Regions from separate parts of the Homo sapiens genome. Here regions 1, 3, 4, 5, 6 and 7 are each linked to region 2. The links are contacts of gene promoters, found by promoter capture Hi-C in blood cells and fetal thymus (Javierre and others, 2016). All regions are on one chromosome and are shown on one strand. The core of a region is centred on a gene start or on the middle of the fragment in contact, and the rest is flanking DNA. Distances in the headings are between cores, read along the strand shown.

Evidence for each region. The method cuts DNA at HindIII sites, captures the fragments that hold promoters and counts their contacts. A CHiCAGO score of 5 or more calls a contact.
Region 1: a contact is called between a fragment that was not itself captured here and the fragment with the promoter of MACC1 in region 2, in 1 of 17 cell types (monocytes). The highest score is 6.4, in monocytes.
Region 3: a contact is called between a fragment that was not itself captured here and the fragment with the promoter of MACC1 in region 2, in 6 of 17 cell types (megakaryocytes, total B cells, M2 macrophages and 3 more). The highest score is 9.8, in megakaryocytes.
Region 4: a fragment that was not itself captured here is called in contact with the fragment with the promoter of MACC1 in region 2 in 2 of 17 cell types (M0 macrophages and M1 macrophages); the score reaches 5.2 in M0 macrophages.
Region 5: a contact is called between a fragment that was not itself captured here and the fragment with the promoter of MACC1 in region 2, in 6 of 17 cell types (monocytes, M0 macrophages, M1 macrophages and 3 more). The highest score is 19.5, in monocytes.
Region 6: a contact is called between the fragment with the promoter of ABCB5 here and the fragment with the promoter of MACC1 in region 2, in 2 of 17 cell types (megakaryocytes and monocytes). The highest score is 7.5, in megakaryocytes.
Region 7: a fragment that was not itself captured here is called in contact with the fragment with the promoter of MACC1 in region 2 in 1 of 17 cell types (total B cells); the score reaches 5.6 in total B cells.

The regions. Positions count from the first base shown.
Region 1 is chr7:19,718,578-19,721,748 of GRCh38, forward strand. It overlaps TMEM196 (transmembrane protein 196), which reads right to left. Exons shown (of 5, transcript NM_001363562.2): 5 at 738-3,171. Among named protein-coding and RNA genes, the nearest start is that of POLR1F, 11 kb to the left of the region's middle. The HindIII fragment of the contact is 9,231 bases long and covers 1-3,171 here.
Region 2 is chr7:20,215,870-20,219,012 of GRCh38, forward strand. It overlaps MACC1 (MET transcriptional regulator MACC1), which reads right to left and starts at 1,515. Exons shown (of 7, transcript NM_182762.4): 1 at 1,430-1,515. It overlaps GIRGL (glutamine insufficiency regulator of glutaminase lncRNA), which reads left to right and starts at 1,708. Exons shown (of 4, transcript NR_134569.1): 1 at 1,708-1,753; 2 at 2,387-2,494. RefSeq lists an enhancer at 1,340-2,539. The HindIII fragment of the contact is 5,395 bases long and covers 1,449-3,143 here.
Region 3 is chr7:19,755,420-19,758,496 of GRCh38, forward strand. All of the region lies in intron 1 of TMEM196 (transmembrane protein 196), which reads right to left. All of the region lies in intron 1 of LOC107986774 (a long non-coding RNA gene), which reads left to right. Among named protein-coding and RNA genes, the nearest start is that of TMEM196, 17 kb to the right of the region's middle. The HindIII fragment of the contact is 4,792 bases long and covers 1-3,077 here.
Region 4 is chr7:20,576,908-20,579,801 of GRCh38, forward strand. No RefSeq gene overlaps it. Among named protein-coding and RNA genes, the nearest start is that of ABCB5, 37 kb to the right of the region's middle. The HindIII fragment of the contact is 927 bases long and covers 1,099-2,025 here.
Region 5 is chr7:20,597,548-20,600,608 of GRCh38, forward strand. No RefSeq gene overlaps it. Among named protein-coding and RNA genes, the nearest start is that of ABCB5, 17 kb to the right of the region's middle. The HindIII fragment of the contact is 1,494 bases long and covers 866-2,359 here.
Region 6 is chr7:20,613,945-20,617,038 of GRCh38, forward strand. It overlaps ABCB5 (ATP binding cassette subfamily B member 5), which reads left to right and starts at 1,723. Exons shown (of 28, transcript NM_001163941.2): 1 at 1,723-1,893. The HindIII fragment of the contact is 15,833 bases long and covers 1-1,795 here.
Region 7 is chr7:19,738,169-19,741,040 of GRCh38, forward strand. All of the region lies in intron 1 of TMEM196 (transmembrane protein 196), which reads right to left. All of the region lies in intron 1 of LOC107986774 (a long non-coding RNA gene), which reads left to right. Among named protein-coding and RNA genes, the nearest start is that of POLR1F, 31 kb to the left of the region's middle. The HindIII fragment of the contact is 6,426 bases long and covers 1-2,872 here.

The DNA.
Region 1 (3,171 bases), core at 578-3,077, 500 kb before region 2:
ATTTAGATTTAAATAGTCACATGTGGATAGTGGCTACCATATTAGACAGTGTAGGTAGACCTTAGAACAGTGAGTTTATGACCTTGAGCAATTCAAGTCTTCACTTATAGGTAGCATTAAAATTGGCTGCTCTGGATTACGTTCAAAGGATTTCCTCAGTCATTCTTAACTGGCTAATATCTCCCTACCAAAGAAACAGGTAAACATTTGTTAGGACATTTTTGGTTATTAAAATGATAAGAGTGTCCTCCTGGGATTTAGTGGGTAGAGATGAGAGATGCTAAATGGCCTGAAATGTGTGGGACAGTCTGCATAATAAGTTATTATTCAGCCCAAATGCCAGTAACAACCAATTTGACAAACTCAAGTAGGCCTTCAGGGTTCTCTAAATATTGTGGTTTAATTTGTGACATCACCTGCAGTCTCTGTCCTACCATAGTAAATTCTGTCTCATATGATCTGTGTCTTATTTTCTCTTGCCCTCAGGGACTTCACATTCTTATTATAATCATTTTGTTTGATGGCTTCAACCAGTCTCTCTCTATACTTGAACATATTCTAGCTTTTGTATCTCAAATAATATTCTTATTTAATTCTGTATCCTTCGTCTGTGACTGTCTCTTTCCCCTCATTCACAGCAGGCCATCCCTTGCCACTCTCAGAATAGCATATTTATTCATGTAGCTATTGGGGAAGGTATTTCTGTATTATAATGAAAAGAAAGCCAACACCATATATAGTTTCAAAGCACATCATTTTATTATAGACATGTCAGTAGAGTTATCATTTCCTGTTCCACTTCCAAACCATTGTGTGTGTGTATATACACATATGTGTATGTATATGCATATATATACACACATACACATATATGTTTAAAATTTCCAAAGCGAGCCCAATTTTATTCTTTTATGCTTATAATACTCTACCTATTTGATATGGTCCAAAGTATACCACCACTCCAGTTTCACATAGTTTTTCTAATTTAGTATCACCTTACTTTCTTCCAAGGGTAGGCTCATACTAAAACTATAAGGTAGTCACTTAAAACATTCCAGCATGTGGTTCAATGTATTGTCCAAATTAAAGTTTCAAGCACTTGAACAATGTCTTCCTAACATCCCCCACTTATCTAAAAAAGAATCGCCGCACATCCCAAGTAAATCATTCTAAACTCAATTCTGAAAATACTAGGTAGAAATAATCATATTTAAAAATATATCTATACTTGGTTAAACATACACTGTAAACTATTTGAATAATTGTGATGATGGCATCTCTTTTTAACTATACATCAAAGCAGTGATATGTCTCCTTTTGTCCTTTAATGTGTTATGTTATAGATCAGTTCAAAAGGCATTACAACATTTTTCTGATGTATTATAATTTTGTATTGAACAAGCATGTTTATAGAGAAATGCTACTGAAAATTAGAGTCAGTGTTTATTCTTTCAGTACAAAACTACATCCTTGCATGAATTCAGGAGGACCATACACACACAAATATCTTCATGATGTAATTTAGATTTTCATTGGCAAAGATCATGCCTGTTTGTGGCATTGAATGAATAGTTATGATGTTGATTCACTATATGAGGTTGCATTTATGGACAACTTCTGTAATCTACTAGGCAATGAAGTTATCCAAAGGAATTGGGAGACTTCAAAAAGTGCACCAAACAAGCAGAGTCCAGTTATTTCTGTTGAATAGATGACAGCCAGAATTTTAAGTGAGCTGATTTAAATAGGTTAAACGATGATCATGTTGCTATAAAAGACCTTCAAATTTTCATTAACTTGAATGATCATTACTGTGTTAGCACAATTAAAACTCATGTTTTGTTTATAAATTATATTCTCATACTGAACAGTAAATATTTTAATTTACCTATGGTTCAACAAGTAACTCATAAAAAATGACTTGAAAATTGATTAGATTTGAGGAAAAAGAAAAGTATACAATATAGTGAGAGTTATGTATTTAAAAATGATAGATTTCTTTGTCTGTTGCCAGAGGTTATATTCTGATAAATATATTCAGATATATGTTGTTTTTTCACTTATATGTGTTGTTCTTGTTTGCTATTTTAACATTCCATTATTAGAGGAAAGGATTGAATCTAGCTATACAAATGTTAGCCTATCTTTTCACTTTTTCCTCAAAGAATTCTTTCAGGATCTTTGGATATAGGCTTTCTTATATATGGACTGCCTATATTATTTCATGAGAATCGTAAAACAAAACACCTAAATTAGATTACAGCAAAGGTAATTATAACTTCATTGTTGGGGGGTTACATCATCTGCCCTTTTGTATCATTTAACTGGACTGCAAGGTGTTTGAAATATCAATATCATCAATAATTTTAAGTCATGATATCTTTATAAATACGGAAGTATGTCATTAAAGTCATGTTCGTTTATAAATTAATTTTAATTGCTATACATAAATACTATAATCATAGTGAAATAGTCAAATAAGTAGTCTATCTGTATACTACACTATTCAGATCACTCATCTTCATAAATATCACCCACAATGATATTTACACAAAACCTAATTAAAAGAAGAAAAATGGGCAATTTTAGTAGAAATTAAACATGTGATTTTGTGGGCATAGAAGGGCCTTGAGCAATTGCCTTCCCATTTCTATTGGAGTAGAATCTTAATAATACCCCCACAGCATCACAATTTCTTTTCTAATACCTATTTACATTCATGTATGCTATAATATATGCTGTATACATGTTCTATATTTACAGTATGTATACACACATTCACACACATACTTTATTCTTAGGCTCATTCATGAACATGCAGATCAATCTGCACAGTATGATCAAAACATGTTTATTTTCTTAAATGATATTCACATATAACTTTTCACTCTTTGTGCAAAAATGCAAAAATACCATATAGATTAGTATTCTCTCTCTCTAAAAAGTCTCTTTTTTATGCTTGAGGTTTTTTGTCATTTACAAATAAATTATGAAATATATTTCATTCACAAGTTGAAAATAATTACAATGTTTTTATAACAAGGCATTACTGAGGTTTTGAATTGTAGCATCCTTGAAGCCATCTGTCTTTCAGAACAAAGACGTCAATAAGTTATTTTTATTTCTTGATATTTGCACTTTTCAATTACTCATATGAAATATGTCATTACA
Region 2 (3,143 bases), core at 265-2,764:
TATTTGTAAATTAGCTACAAGGAAGTTGAGAAAACTGGAATAAATAATATTTTTGCTTTAAGTTTTAAAAATGAGTCATAACTAAAGCTTTTAAGCAAATTGTAACTAATAATTATGACTTCATAATTTCTAGATTCTGTACACTACCCATGAAATCATATTAAAAATCGCTATTATGAATAAAAGATAATCATGTAATTAAGTTCAGGGGGGCATAAAAGAATCACCACTGAGGTTAAGACAACTTTAAGAATATACCTGAAATTCATCATTATCACCCAGTAATTGCTATGTAAAAACCAGACATTAACATAGATAAGTCAATATCAATCCTAAATTAGACCCACTGAATATAGACTTAAGACATTTTTAGGAAATTAGGAAGACCTTTAATAAATGGAAGGCATTGGAATTTTCACTACATGCTTTTTGATCTTAAAAATAAATTTTTTAAAATCTATCTTTATTAATTGTGGTAAAAAACTTAACATACAATTTACCATCCTAACCATTTGTAAGTGTTTACACTTACAAATTTTAAGTTCAATAGTATTAAATATATTTACATTATTGTACAGTCTCCAAGTGTTTTCATCTTGTAAACTGAAACTCTATATCCATTAAACAACTCTCATTTCTCCTTCCCCCAAGCCCCTGGCAACTACCATTCTAAGTATCATTTATGTGAGTTTGACTACTCCAGATACCTCAGGTAAGTTGAATCATCCAGTATTTGTCTTTTTGTTTCTTTGGTGTGTTTTCCAAGCTTAATTGAAACTTAATTAGGATGAAGCCAAGTTACCCTCCATCATGTATCATCTGTCTATTCAGTACAATGCACTGTGCTAATTTAATGACCCCCTTAACTTAATTACATGATTATCTTTTATTCATAATTTAATGCTATTAACCTAATGAGGTAGGTTATGCACACACACTTTACAGATGAGGAAACTGAGACTTTGCGAGGTGAAACATCTTGTCAATGGTCATAAATCTAATAAGCAGTGGGGCTGCTGATTGCAACTTTATCTATCTTCAAAGCACAGTCTTTTTAACATACCTGTATGCTTTTTGAGATATTTAAAGTTTTTAGGGGATTTCAGCCATCTACATATTTTAAGCAACTCATAGAGTGTTTTGTTTTTGCCTTTGATGGTTAATGTGACCTGGGTTCCTCCTTTTTTTTAAAATAAACTACTTTATTCTAAACCATGTCTCAAGGTATTATTCTATTCTATGTCATGAGGTTTATTCTAACACATGTCCCATAAGCCCACAGAATACCAGTTACCTTCCCTTTATTTAAGCAGGGCTTGATTTGTTAAGCAGCTGGTTTGTTACATTTTTCTGGAAATTATACAACTTCCTAGTGTGTAGCACATATCAATAGTGAAAGGAATATTATTTTTAAAAAATCAGCACTTACATTTGTGGAAGTGAGCCCAAGCTTCTTCAGTTCAGACACATGGTTTTAGTGAATAGAAGTCACTCTACCAAACCCGGGTACTCTTCAAACATGCCTTGCTCCGTATGCAGGCAGGCAACTGCACCCCTGCTTCCTGAGCCACCTGGGACTTGAAGTTCTACCACTGTGGCTCCAAAGCTGCCCAACTAGAAACCCCAAAAGGCAAGAGAACTACGATACCCACAATTCAGGCTCCTCACCCGAAACCAGAAGAGGGCGTATGGCTAGAGTTTCACCCTAAGAAGAAAGGGGAAGCAGGTGGAAAAGCAATTAAAAAAAAATCAGGTGAGTATATCTAAGAACCATCTGTAAATATAATCTTATTTCCATGAAAGGAAATAAAAGTGGTTTAATGTTTGCCAGGGAGTAAGAAGGCACCCTCAGTGTTAGCAATAAGTAAAAAATATTTATGCAAGCAAATCCTCATGCAGCTGGAACTTGCCCCACCAGATTCTCTTTCGGTGATTCAGAGCTGAAGGTGCCTCACTGCCCTGTGGAACAGGTGAATAAAGCCTTCCCAGGTGAGTGACAGTGTCTAACTAGTTCCCCCTTTCCCTCTACATCAGCACTGTGATTGTCACTCAAAGACATAGACATATAGACATAATGGAGACCTTTTGGCATTTCATCTTCTAAAATGCTCTGGATTTTTAAGATAACACTTTAAAATGTGCCTTTTAAAATATAAGCAAGAATAAAGTTTTCTTGATATTTTCTTCCATTTTACTTTCCATTTCTGTGTTTTGTGTTTTCCTTCTGTGTATTTTGTTCAAAATTCAAGAAAGAGAAAATTAGGGGAAAGGGGAAAAAAGGTAAAACTTAGTGAAATGAAATGTGCAATAATTGTTTCACATTTTTTTCCAACATCAGCAACAGAGAATGTTTAAAACAAATGTGTTTCTCTATTTGTTCATACAGCATCTCTCTCTAGCCTATTATCTCCTGTTAGACACAGCCCAGAAAATGAATAGAGACAAGTCCTGGCTGGGTCTGGGTTCAGAAACATAATAGAAGGATTCATCTAATGTAAGTAGATGGCAGAATGGTGACAAAGAAAAAGTTTCCTTTCCCTTTTCTGCACTTTCTCTCCTACTGTTCTAACCACCCCTTCCTCCCTGATGCATCCCTGGCTTCATGCTGCCAGATCACCTAATCCACCCAGATTCCCTTTGAAGTTTCCCCTTGACTCATCCCACAATCCAAACTGAGCTGTTCTGTTTCTTTTTGTCACAGGTTCCTCAACTCTCTACTAGAACCTAGCTTTCCTTTATGTCATTATATTATTTCCAAAACAAATGGTTCTTAATTTCCCCAAACCCTACAGAGGGCATTCTGCATGGCATTTCTCCTCCCTGAAACCATTTTTGCTCATCTTGAAATGTTCAGAGATTTCATTTTTTCCAAAGCTCAATGAAAAACACTCTTCAAGATGTCCTTCTCAGTTTGTCTTAATCTGAGTTATTCTCTTCCTCCTAATCAATTTCATAATATTGCATCTGCTCCTCTCATAACACATTGTATATCTCATTTCATTGGTTTACATGGGTGTGTGTGTACCTATGCAGTCTTACATTCCTATTTGAAGGCAAGGCCTCATTGTATCCCTACTTCATTAACTCATTAATGTACAAGTAGATGTTTGTGATAAACAATCAACACATAAAATAACTGAGAT
Region 3 (3,077 bases), core at 349-2,848, 460 kb before region 2:
GGGAGAAGTGGGAAATAGTCTTCCCTTGCCTGGAACACTTTTGGTACTTGCCAGATTATACTATACTTGAAATCCCACTAATAAAAAGTAACAGAGAGACTTTGATTTTACTAGTAAAAAAATAAGATTGAAAGTATTGTGTCATGGGTACAAATAATTTAAGGGTTCATTTTGAGAAATGCTGTACTGTAACACCTGTTTCTGGTGTCACTACAAGGCAAATAAGCCAATTCTGCCTTTCCAGTTTATGAATATGCCAAAAAATAACACAAATTGTCTTAAAGACTTTCCTCATCTATTGTTAATGTCTTAGCAAAACAAAATGTGAGGCCAGGCGTGGTGGCTTATGCCTATATTCCAGCACTTTGGGAGGCTGAGGCAGGCAGATCACTTGCAGCCAGTAGTTTGAGACCAGCCTGGCCCACATGGCAAAACCCTGTCTCCACTAAAAATATAAAAATTAACCAGGCATGCTGGCATATGCCTGTAATCCCAGCTACTCAGGAGGCTGAGGCACAAGAATCGCTTGAACCTGGTGGGCAGAGGTTACAGTGAGTCAAGATTGTGCCACTGTACTCCAGCCTCCAGCCTGGACAGCAGAGTGAGACTCTATTTAAAAAAAAAAAAAAGCATGAAGTTTCCTGACCAGCTACTCATTTCTTTTGATCAAAAAAAAAAATGTATTCAGACAAAAGCTATGCAATAGAAATCTAATGTAAGCCACAAATGCAAACCACATATATCACTATTCTTTTTAGTAGTACATTAAAAGATCAAAAGGGGGATTTCAGCAATGTAGTTTATTTAATCTAATATATAAAAAGTATTGTCATTTTTCCATGTAATCAACATAAAACGACTTGAGACATTTTACATTCTTTTTTCCATACTCAGTCTTTGAAATCTAGTATGTATTTTTTACCTGTAGCACATCTTTGTTTTTTAAACTTTTATTTTAAAAGTTACGTGTGTAGGAGTACATCTGCAGGTTTGTTATATGGGTAAACTTGTGTCATGGTGGTTTGTGGTATAAATTATTTCCTCAACCAAGTATTAAGCCTAGATTCATTAGTTATTTTTCCTGATCCTCTCCCTCCTCCCATCGTCCACCCTCTGAAAGGCCCCAGTGTGTGTTGTTCCCGTCTATGAGTCCATATGTTCTTATCATTTAGCTCTCTTATAAGTGAGCTAATGTCTTATTAGCTCACTTTAAAAGTGAGCTCTTATTAAAAGTTCTTATTGAAAGACATTAGCTCACTTATAAGTGAGAACATGTGGTATTTGGTTTTCTGTTCCTGTGTTAGTTTGCTGAGGATAATGGCCTCTAGCTCCATCCATGTCCTGCAAAAGACCTGATCTTATTCCTTTTTATGTCTGCATAGTATCCCAGGTATATATGAACCGCATTTTCTTTATCCAGTCTATCACTGATGGGCAATTAGGTTAATTCCATGTCTTTGTTATGGTGAATAGTGTAAAGCACATCTTAATTCACACTAGCCACATCTCAAGTGCTCAATAGCCACATGTGGCTATTGGCTACTACATTTTACCATGCAAGTCTAGATGAGGCACAGTTCCAGTAATGGCTACAAGTCAAGAAAAGACAAGTTTCTTCCCAAATATCTTATCACTCAGAAAATACAATGTTTTCCTAAATTAGCTCTAAAGGCAGTTTGCTTTTTACCTGCATAAGTTTTCTGATAACCTATAGTGTAATATCCCCAAAACTTGCATCTTATATTGCAGTAGATACTTTTTTTTTTTTTTTTGAGATGAAGTCTCAGTTTGTCACCCAGGCTGGAGTGCAGTGGCGCAATCTTGGCTCACTGCAACCTCCGCCTCCAAGGTTCAAGCGATTCTCTCATCTCAGCCACCCAAGTAACTGGGACTATAGGTGCGTGTCACCACACCCAGCTTTTTTTTTTTTTTTTTTTTTTTTGTATTTTTAGTTGAGATGGGGTTTCACCAGTTGAGATGGGGTTTCACTTGACCAGGCTAGTCTTGAACTCCTAACCTAGTCACTTGACCAGGCTAGTCTCGAACTCCTAACCTCAATTGATCCACCCGCCTTGGCCTCCCAAGTGCTGGGATTACAAGCATGAGCCATGATGCCCAGTCAATGCTTTCATCTTAGTATTTTTTAAACCCTCATGTCCCCTCTAAAAGACTATTCTGTAGGTCTGAGGGTCTAAGAGGTTTAGTGAGATAGCTTGGCTGGAGCTGAAAAGACATTAGCAAAATCATGAGTTAAAGTTACTCCTTTTTTTTACTCCAAAGTAACTGATCCTTTGAGAAAATATTTTACTTTAATTATAAGTGATTGGTATATAAAATTAATTAATATTGCTTGTCTTTTATATGATATTTTAGTTTCTTACTTTCATATTAGAAAACAGCCCACTCCATCACTAGTAAATATGCTGTACTCTATCCATGGTTAAAAATAAAAGCATTAAAAAGGTTACCTTTTTAAACATATAGGATGATTAAAAGGCATTTATCTTTTAAAATAGTGTTGAATGAAGCCATTTTTATATATATACTTTTTTTTTTTTTTACTAAGAACCCCAGGCAAATGGTGTAGTAAATTTATAAATTTTAATTCATATATATTTGAATTAAAAAGAAAATGCTCAGATAGCAAATGTTAATAGCCTAATGACTTTGACATTTCCAGTCCAAAGTTTTGAATGTTCACTGCTTGATAAATGAGCTTTGGACTCTGTTTTTAAAAAAACCTTCTTGAAGGCAATTCACTTACTTATCCAAATTGATCAATAGCTCTTGTTGGTTTGGAAAATATTAGCTTCTAAAAATTAGCTTCCATTTCTCATTTGGTCTGGAAAAGCACCATGGAAAAGATGCCAAAATTGGTGTAGAAAGCCATTTCTTTGAAACTTCCAAACAGGTAGAAACCTCTGAAATCTGTTAACATACTAATTATATTTCCATTATGGCTTAGCACTGCTAATAATTTGGGATCATTCCTGTTCAGTTTTGGGTAGTGGCCAGATAACTGCATTTTCCTTTTGGTTGAAAGATTTTTTTAAGGATAGTTAATATTTTGAATCATC
Region 4 (2,894 bases), core at 312-2,811, 360 kb after region 2:
TGCATTGTATTCCATTTGCTTTACTTCTACAATAACTAGGTAACCTTCCTGGTCTTAGATATATAACCCATAAGATATATGTTCACTATTGTATTTTGCTTAACCAAGCAGGATTGAATATGATTCTTTCTTTTCTTTGTTTTGTAAAGTTAGTCTATCCTTGATTTTATAGGTCTTCATTTCCCAACATCTGTACTGTATGAATAAGACAATTCTTATAAGAGGGTGAAAGTGGTTTCTTATTTTTTAAAAAACTGCTATTTTGAGAGCAGCTCACAAGTAATAATATGACAAGAAGTATTTTTGGTCTTACACCTGCGGAGACTACTATGCCACTGTGGGTTTTAAAGAGATCAAAATCTCAACTGAGTTAAGAGCTTTTAATTCTTTTTATCACTTTGCTGTTAAAACTATACTTAGTGGTAAGAAAAATAATAATTATTTTTATTAGATTTGGATTAATTGATAAATATGTGATAAATGCATGGCTTTTAAAGATTACAAATGTTTTATGGGACCCATAGATTCCTAGATTCCTAGACCTGTGTCAAAAACTAGACCATGGATGGCAATTAAAGATGGTGATGCTCAATGACACAGAGATATAAATGCAAATGAAGTTGGCAATATTTATATTCTAAAACCACCTTAAAGCCCCTGCTATGTCATACTTCCTCTAATGAGGGAGCTTAACAGATAAACACTGACCTTTGTATTCAATTGCCCTCTGAAATGAAAGCAAAGAAAAAGTTTGCTATTCCTCATAAACTAATTTTCTACCTTTTTATCAAATTCAGAATATAGTTTCCCTTTCTGTTTTGGCTTCCAGGGAAATCAGAGTTAACTGAGATTGAGCTCTTATTTTTCAGGCCTGAAAATACATGTAATCCAGATGTTGAGGAACTAACTCACATCGTGGTAATTTTAAACCACAGGGATTTAAAGGTCACTTGGTCTAACATTCCCACTCAAATCTGAAATCCCTCTACAGCTTCTCTGACACGTGGCCATTTTAGCTGCACTTGAATGTTTCTAGTACACACAGCTCATGATTTCATGAAGGAGTTCTTCCCCCAGGGTTAGTTCTAAAATTCAGAAAGCTTACAATGTAGTGAAATTTACTTTTTTCCTTAACTTCGCATTAGTTCTGCCCTCCAGAGCCATACTTGATTAAAAAAAAATCCCCGTTTCATATGACTTTCCTCTTTGAATATTTAATTTAAACTGCCTTGCCTTTCCTTAGATTTCACTCCTAGCTCTGCTACTTGCTAGCTGTGAGATCCTGGGAAACTTACTCAACGTCTTTAAGCCTCAGTGTTTCCCTCTGTAACATGGAGATAATAATAGGATCCACTTCATAGGGTTATCTTAAGGAATTTATGAGAAAAAAAACTTGTAAAAATGCTTAACACATTGTCAGTACTCCCTGTGACTATCTTAAAAGATCTTTTTTCCTCAAGTATGTTCTCTCAGTGGCTTATATGGAAAGCCCTCTTTCTCTCAGTTCATCTGCATTCCTCCATTTTTGTTATTGTTCAAATTGCTCTTTCGCAATGCTTTTTCCACCTCCATGGCAAATAATTAGAATGTGACAGTGATGCTGCCAGATCTCCATAGTTCTAATGAGCCCTGCTAAACACACTCAAGTGCCACTTGTCTCCCTGTCGAGGTCTACCTTCTCTGCAGGCCAGAGCTCAGCACAGTGTCAAAGAAAACCTGTTGGTGATTGCCTACTTCTCTCTTGGAATCTCCTGTTCCTTCATTCTAACCTTCGATCACCATGCAGAGATGTAAAATCTGGGCTGCCATGTATACCCTTTCTCATTCAGCTTCTCCCAGGTCTCGCCAAAAATAAATAAATAAATAAACTTACCTGTTCTGTGTTCTTTTTCATCAGTGCCCTCATCTGACCTGGTATTGGTCATCTAGTCTTGCAAACCAGTTGTGCTCTTCAGCTAATAGAAACTCATGGCTTAATTTTTCACCCTTCCAAGAAACAAAAAAAAAAATGTTAATTTTGGGCCAAGCTTAGCACCTTGACACATCCTTGAAATGACTTTAAGTCTTTGATAACACGTGATTTCTTTTTCCCTTTTTTCCTTTGCTGTAGGTATCTTAATAAGTGCGTGTGTATGTGTGTGTGCGTGCATGCGTGCACGTGCATGCATACACACAGAGCATTGCAACCTCCTACACCCATTAACAATAGGTGGTATCTTCTTTAGGAAGGCAACAGTGTCAATCTCAGGTAATTGGAAGAGGGTGGCATGAGATGGGCCTCTCAATAAGAAATCTTGTGACATACCTTAATAAGGGTGTCTTCCCCCAAAATACTTGCATTATCTATGGCTTAGTTCAACCCTAAATACAAATTTATTCATGAGTCCATGCTATGAACATACTTATACATAAGAGATATTTCACAAATGCTGTTTGTTGGGGATGAATATTCACAAATGCTGTTTTGGGGGGATGAATATTTACTATCAGCCCTTGACTTTTTAAAAAATTAAGAAATTAACATAAAAGGATAAAGAGAAGATTTTCAAATGCCTTAGGGCTAGATGTTGTGAGATTCTCTTTCCACAGTATTTTCTTAATGCTGTCTTAATGCCAGATTTCAAAATGAATCATCCAAGAAAACTAAAAAGACCCTGTAACCTATTTTTCAATCAAAGTCAACAGAAGCATAACTTTCCTGAATATTTCATGTATCCACCAAAACAGAAAATGGCTGCAATTTCTCTAAAAGTTAGGCTATTCTCTGAACATATCCCCTCAATCTTTCCCATTTAGAAGTTGTCCACACTAAATATGAGTTCACTCTTTGAGTATGAACTTATAGTTAACATGTTCAAATTGATTGTGCTCACTCTGGTTGCTGGCTTTTCTTA
Region 5 (3,061 bases), core at 363-2,862, 380 kb after region 2:
ACCACAGAATTTACATTCTAGAAGGAGTGACAGATGTTACGCAATTACATAAGTATGAAATATAAATGAAAAGGGATAAATGCTGTGATGCAGAAGCTCCTGGTTCTATGAGAGTGTATTGTAAAGAAACTGATGCACACAGAGAGACAAGTAAGGGGAGAAAAGGGGGAGGAAGAGGGGATGGAGACAGAGAACAACTCAGGCGAGAGCCTGAAGCAGGAGGCGCGTGATGAGTTCAGGGAACTGAAAGAAGAAAATGGCATAGCACCAGGATGCTTGGACCTGTGGCCCTAGATGACCTGGGGGGCCCTTGTCCTGAGAACAATGAAGGGCCATTCACAAGGTTTAAGTCTCCAGATATTTTAATTCCTTCCATTCAGGAGCATGTCTTCCTCAACGAGAGATAGCCATGTCAGGGTAGCCCAGTCATTTTTTTGTGTTCACCTTACTGGTCTTCTGCTATAGTTTGTTACCTGGACACTGTAGCGGCTGTCCACTTTCTGTAGTGTATGTGTTCTCCCTAATACGACTCTTCCTTTCTCCTGGATCTATACACCGCTGACACTTCATCTTCCTAAAGTGCAATTTGCATCACATCACTCTCCTCAGAAACTTTCAGAGGCAAATTCAGGATGGAAGGTAAATTCAAGCACTCCTCTGTTTTTTCTGTTCCTATACCATCTGTCACCCTCACCAGCAGCTCTACTCTTCCCAGAATGAATCTTCTACTTCACCCAAATTGAGTATTTTTTCCCACCATCACACAAATGCTCATGGCATGCCTCCTTCTTGAAATGATCTTGCTTTCTTCCTACCCTAGTCTTAATCATCCATTAGAACAGCACCTGAGTCCCACATCTCTAGAAGCTTCCACAGCCAGTGCAGTTTACATTTATTTCTCTCTCTGGATCTGAGAGCTCTTGTTACCTCTGTTCTTCATATTTGTAAGTGGTCATAAATGAATGCACACTCTTGTGATATTCTGTAACTGTTTAGATAGGTTTATCGTGCTTCTATCAAGGACACAAGTTTTTTCTTATCAGAAGCCACATGTTCTATATTACTCATAGCTCTTAGTTGAAGGGTAAACTTCAGGGAAGAGGACAGCAGTCATTCAAGGATCTACACATAAACACTGTAGAATGAGCCATTCTATTTCATGAGCAACAATGACATCTAGTGGCTGACAGGTTGCATAGCTTCTTCTGACTTTAATAATCGGACAAGGCATTCAGAAAGAGAATATTACAGAATAATTAATGAACCCAAGTTATTCCCACCAACTACACTGCTTATGAAGGTATTTCAAATATGGATTTATGTGTTCTGGCTGCCCAAATGCTTCCCCCATCCTCCTGTGGTCCAACGACCCACAAACTACTGGTAAGAGGTCCCTGCCTGTGCTCCTTGCAAACCGCAACTTCCCTTTCCCGTAGGAAGATCACCAGAAATTTTCATGGAGATTATGCGATTTTCAACTTTCTGCTTCCTGTGAAGATAGAGGTTTATGTGGATAAATATTTATTTTGGAAAGAAAGTATGTAATTGAGTAGGAAACTTGAGATGATAAATATGATAACCAGAGTAGAAACGCACTTGAAAGCCAAATGAGAGAAAGTCAGTGTGGCGTAGAGGAAGTCTGTGGGCTTTGGCTTCTGAGGGACTTGGGATCGGATGCCAGGTCTTCCCATAAAGTCACGTGATCGTTATGACAGACTGACGTCTCTGGGGCGCCATCTTCGCATCCCAAACATTGAAGGCGACATATATACAGCCTACCGGGCAGCTTTGGGGAGGATTCGATACAATCCTATATAGTAAGATTTCGGCCTGGAGTAGGTAGCCCATAAATAATAGCTATTCCTATGGTTTTACATTTTACTGGAAATAATTGTCCTCCTCTTTCCAATTTGATATTTTTTAAAACCAAAAACCTGTTTTTTTATCTGAAATTGTCAATAACTCATTCTGATCTTCATTTAAATTACCTCGTTGCTTCTGATTTCAGATGTTTATGCTGGAAAATAATGAGGTTGAGGAAAATATCTCAAATCTCTGAAAATGACCCAGGAATTCTAATCTGCCATAGACCTCAAAATCTGAATAATAATGAAGGGTGTAGAAGAACTGGAGCAGACTATAATTATTGTTATATATAGCAGTTGAAAAAGTAACCCTTTTAACTCAAGGAACCTGGCTTTGTGGAGGGAGAAAACAGGCCTAGGAATAAATATGTAAACAAATTATCGCAAGAAAATATTGTGAAGTCCTGATTTGTGTGGCCTCCCTGTGGGCAGCACGGGAATCCACAATCACCCTTATAAAATGTTTCCTTAGAAAACATCATCTTGGCCTTCTAAGCTTTACCTGAACCTAAGGTAAAGGAAGAGCTTGTTTCAAAAGTTTACTTTTTTGCTTATTATTTGGAATGTAGCAAACATTTTTCTTATATTAAGTATTATTATATACAATGGTTTATTTCACAGCCAATCCCACAGATTAATGCCAAAGACAGGCTTCAATTACATAACTCCACAAATAGGACTGGTATAGGTAGCAAAAATGGACAGTGATGTTACTTTGGGAATACAGAATAATAGAATTCCTGGGCTGGAAGAAATTTGAGATCTCCATTCTAAATTCTAAGTGAGTAGATAAAAAACACACCTTCTCCCAGTTTCAGCTCTGATGTGGGAGCAAATAATCCTCTCCCCACTTAAGACAAATTCAACCTTCTTCCTCTCCTTCTCAGTATTGTAACAGAAACCACAGGAGGGTGGGGGAAAGATGGACAGGAAACCTGCCTCTAATTCTCACTCTTCCATTGTCGGTGGGCAGGGGGCCATTAGGAGCGTTAGTCATCCCAAAATCTCAAGGGCGAAAACAACCCGGATCTATTTCATGCTCACGTTAATGACCATTGAAGTTTGGCTGCATCTCTATTCTAATAATTCTTCCTTCTGGGATTCAGGCTGAAGAAGTAGCTACTAATAAGGACATGCTATTCTGATGGCAGAGGGAAAAAAATTAATTGACAGATGAGATGACTCTTGAAGTTTCT
Region 6 (3,094 bases), core at 473-2,972, 400 kb after region 2:
TTCAAAGAGGTATCTGCACTCCCCTGTCCATTGCGGCATTATTCTCACCAGCCAATATATGGAAACAACCAAAGTGTCCATTGACACATGAATCGATAAAGAAAAGCAATATTATTCAGTCATAAAAAAGAAGGGAACTTTGTCATTTGTGACAACGTGGATGGAACTGGAAGACATTATGTTGTGTGAAATAAGCCAGAGATATGTGTGAAATCCAAAAAAAGTCAAACTCCTAGAAGCAGACAGTAGCATGGTGGTTACCAGAGACTAGGAGGTGGAGGAAATGGGGAGATGTTGGTCAAAGGGTACAAACTTCCAGTTATAAGATGGGTACAGGATGGTGACTACAGTTAATAATTCTGTATTGTATATTTGAAATTTGCTAAGAGAGTAGATCTTAAGCGTTCTCACCAGACACGCACACACACAAACACGTAAATATGTGAAGTGATGGATGTGCTCATTGCAGTAATCATTTCACAATGTATATGTATATCACATCATCATGTTGTAAACCTTAAATATAGACAATAGTATTTGTCAATTATACATATTAAAGCTGAATAAATAAAATAAATTAATTAAAATTATATAAAACTCAAAATTCAGCTCCCTCACTAGGCACATTAAAAGCGCTCAATAGCCACATATGTGTAGCGGCTAGGATATTGGATGTGTGGAGAATATCTCAATTATTGCAGAAAGTTCTGTTGGATGGCTCTGCTCTAGAAGTAACACTTTTAGCTACATTACACCACTTCTGTGCATTTAGATGACATCATGAGATTTTTAAAGCAAAATTAATTATTCCTTCTGTGCATATGACAATTGCAAGTTTATCTCTAGGTTGGCAATTTTCCTAATTATTAGTGCCACATTTACATCTGTTTGCCAGATATTTTCACTTGGACACCAATATCAACCCAAATTTGCATATTTAAACTGAATGTTACCATTTCCCCAAAACCAATTCTGTCTCATAACTTCTCTATTACCATCTTTACTACTCTTTTGTTACAACTTTTAAAAGTTTGATCGCTGAACTTATATTTTTTTTATTTCTTCTTCCTTGTCCTCTTTACCTACCTACCGCCTTAAAAATACCTCTCAAATAGTCTTACTTACTGCTATCAAACTAGATTTTAATGAGTCTACTTAAATCTTGTGTTTCCCCAAGTCCTTCCAGTATATCCATGGCTGTAATGTCAAATAATCAGGTTAATTGTACCAAATACCAATGGCTTTGTCTCTTTCATTCCAGAAAATTATAAAAGTTGTCCTAAAAATTGGTTCAGTGCCTTTTACAATCGTATGTACCTTATCTCTCTCTCCATTTCTGCATGAACAGTCCATCCTATCCAAACCGTTCTCATTTCTCTACCATGAGATAATTCACCTTGCATTCCTAAAACTATGCCCTTGTTCCTCCTCCACATTTTTCTACTTACTGAAACCTTAGCCTTCCTCCAGAAACTAACCTCAGGGCCATCCTCATCTGTGGGCGAAACCATTTTAGATCACAATGTTCTTCCTCAGTCTTCTTAGATACTAGAATAGTCACTCTTTGTACTATTCATCACATAACGTCTGTCTTGCCAGGTATATTAGGTTCCCCTAGAGAAATAGAATCAATAGGCCGTGTGTGTGTGTGTGTGTGTGTGTGTGTGTGTGTGTGTATGTAGAGAGAGAAAGAGAAAACACGCTCATGTAATTGTGGTGACTGGCACTTCCAAAATCCACAAGCCAGACTAGAAGGCTGGAAATTCTGGCAAAAAATTGATACCTTGTATCTGAAAGCTTTATCCTATCCTCTTCAGAAGACTTCAGTCTTTTCTCTTAAGGACTTCAACTGACTGGATGGGGCCCACTCAAAACAGCATCTAAGGAATTAAAGTAAGTCAAAGCAAAAGTATTAGAGATTATGAAAACAATTGAAGCTTGTGAAGAATATAAAACACTTCTCCATCTTAGAAAGAATAGTTTGTGGTAAAGATGGAAACAAAAATGTGTGTGTATGAAACTTTTTCATAGTCAGAAATGATCATCCTACTATTATTTTGGTCATTTTAAAGCATCCATACAATTCATATCTTCTTTCTTTCTTTCCCTGTGACAGGGTCTCACTCTGTCACCCAGGCTGGAGTGCAGTGGCACGATGTTGGCTCACTGCAACCTCCGCCTCCAGGGTTCAAGAGATTTTCCTGGCTCAGCCTTCTGAGTAGCTGGGATTGCAGGTGCCCAGCACCATGCCCAGCTAATTTTTTTATTTTTAGTAGAGATGGGGTTTCACCTTGTTGGACAGGCTGGTCTCGAACTCCTGACCTCAGATGATCCAGCCGCCTTGGCCTCCCAAAGTGCTGGGATTACAGGCATGAGCCACTGCGCCCAGCCATATCTTCTTTCATCTAACCAAAGATCCCATGTTTTCCATCCAACCAGTATATCTTAGCTATTTGTCAGATTATTCTTACCAAGGATGCTTGAACGTTAAGTGCATCTCATGATTTCTTCTCACATGGGTATTTTGTCCTATGATTTCCATCTTGGTACATGAACCTAGAAATATTTTTTAAGGCAAAAGTCCTTATAAATAAAATATTCTGTCTATTTTTACATTTTCTTGTATGTTCCATAGTACTTGCCATGATAGCATCCACACAGCTGTCAATAAGTAAGAATTGGCTGACTGATAGATTTTGTGTAGAGCAATTAAGATGTTCAGAGTTCTTCTCTCATGTTATCTACTTAGTGCTGGATATTACTACCTGATTATCTCACAAATATCTCAAACTTGACAAGTTTCAAGTTAAATTTATCTTCCTTTTGAAACATTGGGTAACAGAGAGGAACATGGGGGCAGCCATCATAGTCAACCTGTAGCTTTCCATACAGTGAGGACCTGCCAACTGGCTCACAAATTGCTTTGACCTTGTGTCGCTTTGTCTCAGTGCACTTTTCTCTACTATCTAAATAGTATTCCTTCTGCCTGGGATAGTCTTTTTGATCTTTATATAGCAACCTCCTTTTATAATTCAGATTGCAGCTTAAACATTATCTTCTACAAGGGGCTTTCTCTGACCAGATGTATATAAAT
Region 7 (2,872 bases), core at 237-2,736, 480 kb before region 2:
AATGATTTTGACACCACTATACATGTATACTGAAATTGAACAATTAAGTAAATGCGTAGATGGTAAAAGCCAGATTTCTTACTGTTAGAGTGAGAGTTCAGAAATAAGTCAGGGTAAGAGTCTAGAATGATCCACATCGTAAGGGATTGGAGTTGTAGGTATCAGTATTAAGCAATTTTTAGTTTAATATAGATACAGATGGTTACATATATAACTATTTATATAGATGTCTATACACACATTGGCATATACTCATACATATATTTCTTTGCTCTGTTTACTGACAAGTCGCAGGAGGAGCAACATGCCAGTATCAATGAGCACACCTATCACCCAGATCTTGGTTTCTAATACCTTCTCCTATAAAAGGAACCATGCATCCTTGGAGAAATGGCTGAATTTTGGACTGGGGCAGGAAATATATAAGATGAACATGGAGCATACAAACAAACAAAACCCACATTGAGGTTTGTCAAAGGGACAAAGGAGCCAACTGAAATAGCTTCCAATGACTAAAGGCTGGAGCAATTCAAGCACCAAAATAAAACAGCATGGGATTATGACCCAATGTGTACAATAAATATCCTTGAGGCCATAAAAATGAATGATAGACTAAATCAGCAAATGGAGAGAAGAGAAAAATCTACTGTACAGAAAAATTTCAAATAACTTATGTAGATATTTTGCTCTCAAAGAAGTGGAGCATAACTTCCCACTATCTAAGTGTGAGCCACACGTAATGATTTTCTTCGAAAAAGTACCATATGGGAAAGGAGAAAAAAGAGTAACTTTAGGGTGGAGAGACTGAACAAACACCACCTCAATCAGGTGACCAAGGTCAATGCCAACAGTGATAAATCATGTTGATGGTACATATCCTTCATACAATGTGATGAAAATGGCAGGGATGCCCACTATTACCACTTGTGTTATACATTGGAGCAGAGCCAGTAGACAATTCAAATAGGCAATAGAAAGAAATTAAAAGTATGAAAATTGCAAAGGTGGAAGTGAAACTATCATTATTTGCAGACAATATAATTGATATATGAAATTCCCAAGAGAATCAACTCTACATGGTAATATAGAAAGGTAGCAAGGCACAAATTAATATTAGAAAGCAGTAATATTCATATATGCCAGTGATAAAATTCCTAAAAATAAATTGTGTAATATAAGTATAAATAAGGAGAAAACTTAAAAACATTAATGAAGAATATTATAGATTTGTACAAATGAAAATACATAAAATATAATTGCTATAGTCTGAATATTTGTGAATGGGATTAGTGACCTTATAAAGGAGGCCTCAGAGAGCTTGTCCATCTCTTCAGTTACCTGAAGACACAGCTAGAAGTTGCCATCTTTGAAGCAAAGAGTGAACCCTCAACAGACACTGAATCTCTGGGCAGCCTGGGGAAAATATTTGCAACAATAAGCAAAAGACTAATTTCCCTAATGTAAATGAACTCCTAAAAACTAATAAGGAAAAGATAAACGATTCAATGGAAACATACACAAAAGATATGAACAGATACTTCCCTGAAATACAAATGACTTCTAAACATAAATATGCTCAACCTCATCAGTAATAAGAGAAATGCAATTTCAAACTAACTCAAATATGTTTCTTCACTTATCAGATTGGCAGAAATCCTTTGATGCTGTTCTTTACTGTTCGATAATCTTGGCAAAGATGTAGAGAACTACAGAATCATACAATGCTTATAGATAAATTGATTACTGAAAGGAATTCAGCAACAATTATCAAAATTATACAGGTGTGTTTTGTGTGTGTGTGTGTGCACACATGTATCTCCTTTGCCTCAGCAGTCCCACAAGTGAGAAGTTATCCAACAGATTTAGCTGCAAGTGTACAAACTGATCCATGTGCCATATTATTTATTTTAGCACTATTAGTAATAACACAAGAAGAGCAGTCCCAAATGTCAGTCAGTAGATAACTGGTTAAATTTAAAGGCATTCTTTGCATCTATTAAAAATATATGAGAAAGATTACTATTCACTGATATGGAGAGTTCTCCAACACATATAGTTAAGGGAAAAAAGCAAGGTGTAAAATTGTGTATGTAATATACTACCTTTTGTGTAGAAAGGCAAGAAATATATAATTATCTATATACAAGTTTGCTCATACATGTGTAAAGTAACTCTGGAAAAACAAGAAACAAATGGCTGTGATTATTTGGGTTAGAGGAGTGATGGCAACCTGATCAAGGGGACTGAACTTTTGTTGAATGCTTTTGGTTTTATTTACATTTGAACCATTTTTAGGAGTTACTTATTCAAAAAGTTAAATAAGTTGACTCCTATTTGCTCAAGGCAAAATTATGATGTAAATATTAAGAAAAAATAGCCCATCAAGATTCATTGTTATTCAGTTTTGTGTTCTCCGTGGCTATTTAAAAAATACTAACAAAAACTCCCTAATCTGTACATACTCAGAATGTGTATTTGGAATGAGAGGGTGGCACCCCTTTTTGGGGTGGGCCAAGGAGCTCTGCTAGCGTTTTTTCAACCACAACCACCGAGGTCATTGTTTTGCCTGCCTATATCCAAGGCTGGTTTTGCATGTGGAATTGAAATGAATTCAGAATCTGGAGGGTCAGGTATTTCAGGAACAAACTCAAAAGTTCCATAGAGTAGTTTATAAGAATTGAGTACAGAAATAAATTAAGCCTATCATGGAAGATTGAGGTTGAAGGCTGAGCGTAGTTTTCTTCTTAAATATAATGAAGGATAAACCACTACATGTTGAAGTAGATGCAGCCTCCACCTTCAATAACTAACATATTTCATCTTTATTTAGAAAGTAGCTTGTAGTTCCCACACATTCATAATAGTTGCTGAA